Regions from separate parts of the Homo sapiens genome. Here region 1 is linked to region 2. Evidence: promoter capture Hi-C in human tissues and cell types (Jung and others, 2019). All regions are on one chromosome and are shown on one strand. The core of a region is centred on a gene start or on the middle of the fragment in contact, and the rest is flanking DNA. Distances in the headings are between cores, read along the strand shown.

Evidence for each region. The method cuts DNA at HindIII sites, captures the fragments that hold promoters and counts their contacts. A contact is called where the count stands out against the background at its distance.
Region 1: a fragment that was not itself captured here is called in contact with the fragment with the promoter of RNASEK-C17orf49 in region 2 in 2 of the 25 tissues and cell types used here (H1 embryonic stem cells and lymphoblastoid cells).

What each region holds. Positions count from the first base shown.
Region 1 is chr17:6,764,218-6,768,954 of GRCh38, reverse strand. The region is part of intron 5 of XAF1 (XIAP associated factor 1); the gene reads right to left. Among named protein-coding and RNA genes, the nearest start is that of FBXO39, 9.6 kb to the left of the region's middle. The HindIII fragment of the contact is 6,608 bases long and covers 1-4,737 here.
Region 2 is chr17:7,010,311-7,014,749 of GRCh38, reverse strand. It overlaps RNASEK-C17orf49 (RNASEK-C17orf49 readthrough), which reads right to left and starts at 2,333. Exons shown (of 8, transcript NR_037717.1): 1 at 1,993-2,333; 2 at 1,008-1,084; 3 at 1-605. It overlaps RNASEK (ribonuclease K), which reads right to left and starts at 2,126. Exons shown (of 3, transcript NM_001004333.5): 1 at 1,989-2,126; 2 at 1,008-1,084; 3 at 218-605. The coding sequence starts at 2,066. The coding sequence ends at 464. It overlaps ALOX12-AS1 (ALOX12 antisense RNA 1), which reads left to right and starts at 2,416. Exons shown (of 3, transcript NR_040089.1): 1 at 2,416-2,554. ALOX12 (arachidonate 12-lipoxygenase, 12S type) reads right to left here. Exons shown (of 14, transcript NM_000697.3): 14 at 3,996-4,439. The coding sequence ends at 4,327. RefSeq lists a silencer at 1-35 and enhancers at 126-255, 6-506, 1,686-1,865, 1,946-2,065, 2,145-2,765. The HindIII fragment of the contact is 15,519 bases long and covers 1-4,439 here.

The sequences.
Region 1 (4,737 bases), core at 1,773-4,272, 250 kb after region 2:
AATGTTGGGAATTCAAAGAGATAATAGATGAGAATTTTCAGGCCTGATTAGTGACATAAATCTTTATATTAAGGAAAGAGAAATCCTGAGCAGGAGAAAAGCAAACACATTTGAGTACATTGTTCTGAACAGAATGAATAAAAATAAAACTACTCTTAAACACGTTACAGGTAAAAGGCAAAGAGGATCTTGAAATCAACCAAATATAAAGATTACGTACAAAGGAATGGCAATTAGGCTGGAAGAAAATACATCAACAGCAATAACAGAAGTGGGATGGCAGTGGAATAATCTTCAAAATGATAAGAGAAAATAGCTGTTAATCTAGATTTTGATATCCAGCTAAACTATCATTCATGGATGCAAAAAACAAAAAGCTTATTTTCAGGCAACTAAAGATTTACTACTCAAGGTTCTTGGTGAAGAAGCTACTGAGATGTATTTCAGGAAGAGAGAAATCATACCCAGAAGGAAAGCTTAGGATCCAAGGAAGAATGTGAGTAAAGAGAAGGGTAAACTTGTGAGTATATCCAGCCGGGCACAGTAGCTCATGCCTGTAATCCTAGCACTTTGGGAGGCCGAGGTGGGCAGATTATGTGAGGTCAGGAGTTCAAGACCAGCTTGGCCAACATGGAAAAGCCCATCTCTACTAAAAATACAAAAATTAGCCAGACGTGGTGGCACACACCTGTAGTACCAGCTACTTGAGAGGCTGAGGCAGGAGAACTGCTTGAACCCAGGAGGCGAAGGCTGCAGTGAGCCAAGATCGTGCCACTGCACTCAAGCCCAGGCAACAGAGTGAGACTTTTGTCTCAAAAAAAAAAAGAAAGAAAGAAAGAAAAAAAGCAAAAACAAAAACATGTGAGTATATCTAAACAGGCATGAGTTACATAAATAACAACAATAATCAGTAAAGAGGGGTAGTATGAAAGCAAAATGAAACAAAATTCTGGCAGCATTTTCATGTAAGATAGTTACAGTGTTAACATGTTCTCAAATCTATATACTATTTGTAAGGAAAGTAGAGATAATGACTAACTTTAGACTTTATTAAGTCAAGTATTTATATTAAAATGTTAAGGGTAACTATTGAAATGATAGAAATAAATGTAAAATTGACGAATCAGTAGGAAAGAAGAAAGAGAATAAAGAAATCTTGCTCAATCCAATAGAATACAAGGGAGAAGCAAGCAGCAGCAGCAGCAGCAGCAGCAGCAGTAGTAATGAACAAGAGTGGTAAATGCAAGGCCCCAAAACGATGGGGGAAAATTATTGTTAACATCATTGAGAGTGATAAAGGCATTGTGATTAAGAAAATGACTGTATTTTTGAGATATTAAAGAATGATGGTGAAATAACAGGATATCTTGGATTTGCTTTAACATACTTTAGAAAAAAGAAAACAAACAAAGTATAGTTCAAGCCTGGAAAACTTTTGATTTCCACGTGTTAACAGCTATTTTCTCTTAGCACTTTGAAGATTATTCCACTGCATACCCACTTCTATTATTGCTGTCGATATATTTGCTTTCAGCCTAACTGCCATTCCTTTGCTTGTAATCTTCTTCGGCTGATTTCAAAGAAATCAACCTTTGCCTTTTACCTGTAATGTATCTAAGAGTAGATTTATTTTTATTCACCTTGTTTAGAACAACAACTGTTGTATCTGGGGAGTAAATACATGAATGTTTATTGTATTAACTTTCTACTGTCATATTTATTTGAAAGTTTTTGTAATCAATTTTATTTCTTTTATTTTTAGTGGACAAGTAATAATGATACATACTTATAGAATACAGAATGATTTTCTAATACATGTATACAGTGTGTAGTGGCCAAATCAGAATTGTAATAAGATTTTTAATAAACAGATTAAGATGGTCAATAGATTCTATAGCCACCCAAGCTTTCATTTTCAGACATATAAGGCCTAAAAAATTTGCCTCTCATGCTTTCTTTCTCAAGAAACTATTTGGGGATATGTTCTATCAAACAAGGAGTAACCTAAGAAAGAGAAAGATGAGACCTGAGATTTGGGAATCAGAACTCCAACCGTGGAGAGAGTGGAAGAAATTCCAGACCAACAGCTAATCATCAAGCCTGGGGCATAACATGCTCCCAAAATGAAATGGACAGACTATCTGATGTGTGTAGTTGTACTCAGGGGAATTTTCAGATCTGGTAGAGAATTTTAGGGATGATTTAGTGATAGGTACCTAGAAAGTGAAGCAAATGAAAAACCGAAGCAATTATTAAGTCCAGGTAAAACAAAAAGTTGTAGGAGAAAGAACACATAATCACAATTCATGTGGAAAACCATTTATAATGTTTACATGGTTATACTAATGTAATACTGAATATTTATTTAACCAGAATGAGTGAAATCAATACATTGGAAGGATGAAATGAAGAACTTTGGAGGTGTGTGTGTGGGATGGGTGGTATAAAAAAGTGAAATCTATATTCCTAAATCCTTATGAGTCAATAAGTAATATCTAAAACTGGAAAAAATATAAGAAGGTGCTTTAGACATATGAAGGTGATTACCAGAAGAAACAGCTAAAAGCAAAAGTAGAGTATTTGTGTCTGGGGAGTAGTTAGCATGAAGGGGACCAGTGGGGCTTATAGTTTTTCTGAGGTCGTGGGAGACAATTAACAAGGGCCATAATAAGTAAGTAAATTAGATAATATGTTAGAAGTTGGCAAATGCTATGGAAAAAATAATAGAAGAAGGTAAGGGGTTGGTAAATATGTGATGGAGAGGGAGTTGCAATTTTAAATAGGTTGTTGTGGTACATCTCCTTGAGAAGGTGCCATCTGGGCAAAGACTTGAGAGAAGTGAGAGAGTTAGCTCCTGGAGTAGGGTGGGGAAGGTGAGGAGGTAGCTTCCAGCCAGAGGCAGTAGCCAGTGAAAAGGCCCTAAGGCATGGTATGCTCAAGAAACAATCAGGAGGCCAGTGAGCTGAACAGGAGTAGTACATGAGATCAAAGAGGTGATGAGATAAGAAGGGAGGCAAAGATGACATAGATCTCTAAAGCCACTGTAGTTTTGAGTTTGCATAAAATGGGGCAAGAATCAGTACAGAGATCTGAACAGAGGAGCCAAACAATCTGACTTGTATTTTTAAGGGATCACGTTGACCTCTGTGATGAGAATAGACTGTAGGGGGCAAGGTGAGAAGTAGGAAGACCGTTTAGGAGACTGCTGCAGCATCTGGGCTAGAGAAGATGATGGTTCATACCAGGGTAGCAATGCGGAGGGAAAGAGAAGTCGAGAGTGAACCTGAGATTTTGGCCTGAACAACTGGAAAGATAGAGTTGCCATCAACTGAGATGGGCCAAGCTGTGGCAGAGAGGATTCCATTTCAGATGTGTTACATTTAAGATGTCTATCAAGCATTCAAGTGAAGATGCAGTAAATAGTAATATACAAATCTAGAGTTTGGGGAGAAAAACCCAGACTGAGATATAAATTTGGAAGTGTCTGACTACATATGGCTTTTTAAAAAATTTTTAAATTTTTATTTATTTATCTATTTTTTGAGATGGAGTCTCGCTCTGTCGCCCAGGCTGCAGTGTAGTGGCGTGATCTCGGCTCACTGCAAGCTCCGCCTCCTGGGTTCACGCCATTCTCCTGCCTCAGCCTCCCGAGTAGCTGGGACTATAGTCACCCACCACCACACCCGGCTAAGTTTTTGTATTTTTAGTAGAGACGAGAGTTCACTGTGTTAGCCAGGTTGGTCTCGATCTCCTGACCTTGTGATCCTCCCACCTCGGCCTCCCAAAGTGCTGGGATTACAGGCATGAGCCACCATACCCGGCCTTACATATGGCATTTTTAAAAATCAGGAGGTAGGATGAAATAATGAAGGCAGTGAATATAGGTAGAGAAGAGACCAGAGACTAAGCCCTGGGGCCCCCCAAAATTAAGAGGCTGGGGAGGTAGAGAATGAGAGACCACCAATGTCCTTGAAAACCAGGAAAGTGTGGTACCCTGGAAGCCGAGAAAGTCCACTGAGGAAGAGGGAGTGATGAGCAGTAAATGCTTCCCATAAATTGAGAACTGAGAACTGAGCATTGGATTTAGCAATGCAGAGGTCATTGATTTTGACAAGAGCAGATTTGGTTAAAATGGAGAGCCAGACTGGAGTGGGAATAAGAATGAGAGAAGAAAAGATGGAGGCAGTTACTTATAGACAACTAGCTCAAATGTTTTTCTACGGAGGGGAACAAAGAAACAAGATGGTAGCTTATAGGAAATGGGATCAGAAGTATTTCATGTTTTTCTGGCTTTGGGTCATATTAATAAAAAGTTAAAGACTGAAAACCACAAAACCACCTAGTATACATGATTTCAATCCTTAATTTTCAAAATTAAAAAAAAATTCTTTTCGTGCAAGGCCATTGATATATAAATATTCAATAGTGGTACCCCTTTAAAAAGTTATTGTAAGAAATGTTAGGACAACCTAGAGATGTGAGACTTTGTTGTTACCTGCGTGTACAGCTCATTTAACCTCTCTCTGTTGCAGGACAGAGAGGGGAGAATTGCTGGAGCAGTGTAGCAAAAAACTTGTGTGACCTTGTGTAGGCAAAAAGAGAGGGTATATTATACCAGTAGGAGGGGATAGGCTTTAGAGAGGCACATAGGAAGCTCCTCTATGGTTAAGAGGTGGGAAGGCAAAGTAAGTGAGTGTGGATGCTGCCAAGGAGATAGATCTGGTGTTGGCTGGTTGT
Region 2 (4,439 bases), core at 1,084-3,583:
CCCTCCCCGCAGCGGATAGGCTCAACCCGGCGGCTCCCCGCCCCATCAGACGCAGTCGCTTAGACCGCTCGGCGCGCCCAGTCGATGGGGAAAGCCTTCGCCTCACTTCCGCGCCACACTTCGCTCCACTTCCGCTCAGACATCGGGACTTTCCAGGCAGAGGCCGACCTCTAGTCTCAGCCCCGTGCTCGCCCCCACTCAAGCACAGACACAGGGCTGAAGAGAGCAGATTCTCTTTATTGAGATACGGGACACAGCGAAGGGTGGAGAAACGGAACAGCCCCCCAGCCTCAGCCCTCTCCACGGGGGCCGGATGCCAGAGATGGGAGAAGGGATTCAGTCTCTCGCCCGGGAAACCCAGTCCCGCAGAGGGCGCCGGCAAGGGTGGGACGCGACCTGGGTGACACGGTGCAGGGAGTCTTTAAATAGAGGAGGGGCTGGAGCGGGGAAACGCGCCGGGGCCCTAGCGCACCATGTATTCCTTGCGCTTATTGAGCCGAACTTGGCAGAAAGAGAAGCCTCCGAGGAGGAGGTAAAGGCCTGCAGCGATGAAACAGTTGTAGCTGACTTGCTCGTAAAGGTTGTATATGTTCTGGGGGCCATTCCTGGGGGTGGGAATGAAGCAAAGGGGTCAAACTTTAATAGGAGCCAACATTTTCTGAGCACTATGTGCCCGACACCTGTTTAGGCGCTGTTACGTGTATTACTTTATTCAATCTTCTTGACCATCCTATGGGGTGAGATCTGTCATAGCCATTTTGCAGAGGTGGACTGAGAAGCACAGAAAAGTAAAATACCTAAAGAGGTCACACCTAAGGTGGTGGGTTTGGGATGGCCGCTGAGGTCTGACTCCCTGGCTCCTAACCACATTCTCAAGAAAGCCGCTCTCCTCTCCAAGTCCTCTAACCTAGGGGCCCTAAGCACCGGGCCTCCCAGACGTAATTCTGACCCTAGGCCTCGCCACCTCCCACCTGCTCCCAGCCCGCCTCCCCCACCCGAATACTTACTCAAAATCTTTCTCCGTGAAGGGAACGTCCTCAATCAACACAGCGGAATGGACATTGAAAAATATTCCGAGCATTATCTGGAAAAGGGGAATGGGTAGACTGTTGAATTCAGGCACCTGACCTCATGTTCACTTCGTAAACCCCTCCCATTTCCAATGTTGCTACAACACCCGAGCCTGAGATTAACCAAAACGAGGTGGTGGTTACTGGATTCGGACTCAGCCACCTGGAACAGGGCGTGAGGTGGTGACATTGAGACAAGTGGTCGAGGCAAGGGTGGGAATAGTGACCAAGCCATCTCTCCCAGGAACCCAGATTATCGTCCTCTCTGGAGGCGTCATCATCACGGGACAGTGCGGAAGAGGGGAGGGAGAACCGGCACTTCTTCATATCATTTCTTCTTGAAGTGGCGGTGGGTGGATTACTGGGAAAACAAGGCCCAGCTACACATTTCTGGAACAAGCACTCTCTTTTCCTCCCATGTCCTCCATTCAACTCAAGCACCTCTCAGGCACCCCGCTCTTGTTTCTCCTACCTTGAGGGGTCTCCACCTTTACCAGCCCTGGCTCCTCCCACTCCAGGGCCCTCCGCTCCAGTTCCCTTTTTTCTTTTTCTTTGGGGACGGAGTCTCGCTCTGTCACCCAGGCTGGAGTGCAGTGGCGCGATCTCGGCTCACTGCACCCTCCGCCTCCCGGATTCAAGCGATTCTCCTGCCTCAGCCTCCTGAGTAGCTGGGATTACAGGCGGGCGCCACCACGCCCGGCTAATTTTTGTATTTTTATTGGAGACGGGGTTTCACCATGTTGGTCAGGCTGGTCTCGAACAGTTCCCATTTTTCAATTTCAGTCTGTCTCCTTCTCCGGGGCCTGTAGATCCCCGGCCCCTCCGGCCTGCCTGCGGCCCAGAGTTTCCTCGCCTCCCAGCCCTCCCAGCCCGGAGCCCCTCAGGCCCTCTCCGATCCTTGCCGGGGAGTCCCCTCACCAACATGATCACTCCCCAGGCGCTGAGGACGATGCCGCAGGCGGCCAGCTTCGGCCCACAGCACAGGAGCGACGCCATAAAGAAGGGAGTCGGGGATCGCCGAGGTGCAAGCGGGCTCGGAAAGCGGTGGGAGAAAGCCCAGGATGCCCTCGCAGGGGGGCAGAGGGGGCGTGGCCCCGGCCTCAACCATCCCATCCGGGGGCGGCAGGCGGAAAAGGCTGGGCTCCTCTCAGGACTTTCGCGGGAGACGGCGCCGTCTGAAACCAAAACTGCTCCTGGGGAAACCTTCCTTGACCTCTGTAGCTAGGGCGTGAGTATTGGAAGAGCGAGGGCCTCCGGTTTGTTGGTCCCCCTCCCCCCGCACACGGGAATGGAAGGAGCTGGTATGTCACGTGACCAAGCCTGTCACGTCACGTGACGAGGAACTAGCCTTAGCGAGGCCATGGGGGAAAAAGTCTAACTGGCGGAACTCCTGGGAACTGGGGCGATGGGCTCTTAGTATCGGAGGATTGGAGCCATCTGATTTTTACCTGAAATTCCTTAGTCTCTCCTGTGTTGGGGAAATGGTAAGTAAGACAGATTTTCACCAACAGAGAGCGTTTCTATCTCTTCTCTACTCCTCCCTTTTAAAATTGAGATTCTGACAGTGTAAAGGAGTTAGGACCCCCTTTTGGGGATCGGGCATGGTTTTGTGGCTTTAAAATGCTTTAAAATTGCTGAAGTTTCTTGGTATTGGAACTGTTTCTCCTAAGTAACATTTTATCATCGCACGTGAAATACTGTAACTCTCGGTGCCAAATCCAGGAAAAATGGGCGGTTAGGAGAAGTCCAGGGAAAGCCGACTGAGCAGGTTGTGAAGGTAAGCAGTCCTGTTAAATGTACACAAAAATGTCACTTTGCTTCTCTAAACTAGGAAAACTGATAGGACTTTTGAATAAGGTAGGATATAAGATTTAAAAATATAAATAGGTCATCCCCTCCAAAAAAGCCGTTTGTATGTTTAACTGGTGAGTGACAGATCTGTAATAATTATTTAGAAATAGGAATGTCGAGGCGGGCGGATCACCTGAGGTCGGGAGTTCGAGACCAGCCAGGTCAACATGGCGAAACCCTGTCTCTACTAAAAATTACAAAAATTAGCTGGATGTGGTGGCATGAGCTTGTGATCCCAGCCACTCGGGATGGTGAGGCGGGATAATCCCTTGAACCCGGGAGGCGAAGGTTGCAGTGAGCTGAGATGGCGCCACTGCATTCCCGCCTGGGCGATAGAGACTACTTCTAAAAAAAAAAAAAAAAAGAAAAGAAAAGAAGTAGGGATGTTTGAAGAACACAGTTTTGCAGTGAGCAAGTTGTACCCACTCTAGTGAGGACAGTGACCTCAGAATAATTGAGAGGGATCATTTGACCTTGAGACCCCAGGACCTAACAAATAAACACTATCATTGGCTAGAATAACTTTGTAGTTCTTGTCCATTTATTTTGTGCATGTTGTTCTTAAAAGGCTTGTGAAAGATAACTTGGAATGTGGGAAACACATAGATCCCAGAGTATTAAAGGGGCTGGAAAAGTAGCCTTAAGACATGAATTATGTGCCTTTCATCTGGGACTGTTTGGAGAAAGAAGCCATTTTGGGGCAGTGGTTTGTATTCTGCCCCAAAAACATGATTCTTATTCAGGGACTTTTGGGGTACATGGGTGAATAGGAGAAATATGGGTGGAAGGAATTTGCCAAAGAACTGAGTCAGGAATTTGTACATTGGCCACCAGGCATGAAGGTTAGTTCCTGGGAATGGAGAGTTAGCTGAGGTAAGCTGATTTTTCTAAGAAATCCCCCTGCTCCATGATCTTGGATGTTTTGGAAGTAGGGTCAGGGCCTCAGGCTAGTGCAGGGTTCAAGGGCCAAATCCAGTCTGTAGCCTGGCTGTGCATGTCTCAAACAAAGCACATTTGTTTGTGGATTTTTTTTGCATTTTAAATGGTTGAATAAACCAAAAGAAGACTACTTTGTGATGTAACATTCATATCTCAGTGTCCATAAAGTTTTATTGGAACATAGTCACACTCATTTCCATGTTGTCTGTGGCTGCCTTCATGCTGCAGCAGGAGAGCTGAGTAGTTGAGACAGTGACTATGCGGTCTGCAAAGCGTAAAAAAGGATCTAGTCTTTGCAGAGAAAGTTTACTGCTCCCCTGGGCTAGTGGGATACTAATGTAGGGGGTTTAACTGGGGGAGGAAATAGAGCCTTAGCAGCAGAGACTTTAGGAAAGCATGAAATTCAAGATAGAAATGTCAGTCCTAAAGCTGATGTGAAATCTTGCAGGTAGAGTCACTCTAGGGCTCAGATGGTGACACTGTTCTCTATGCAGCTGGGCTTCAGATATTCATAGGGCCAGTCAAGTTGCTCATTCCGGGCTGTAATCTCCTTTTCCAGCTTTTCCAAATCTGTTCGGA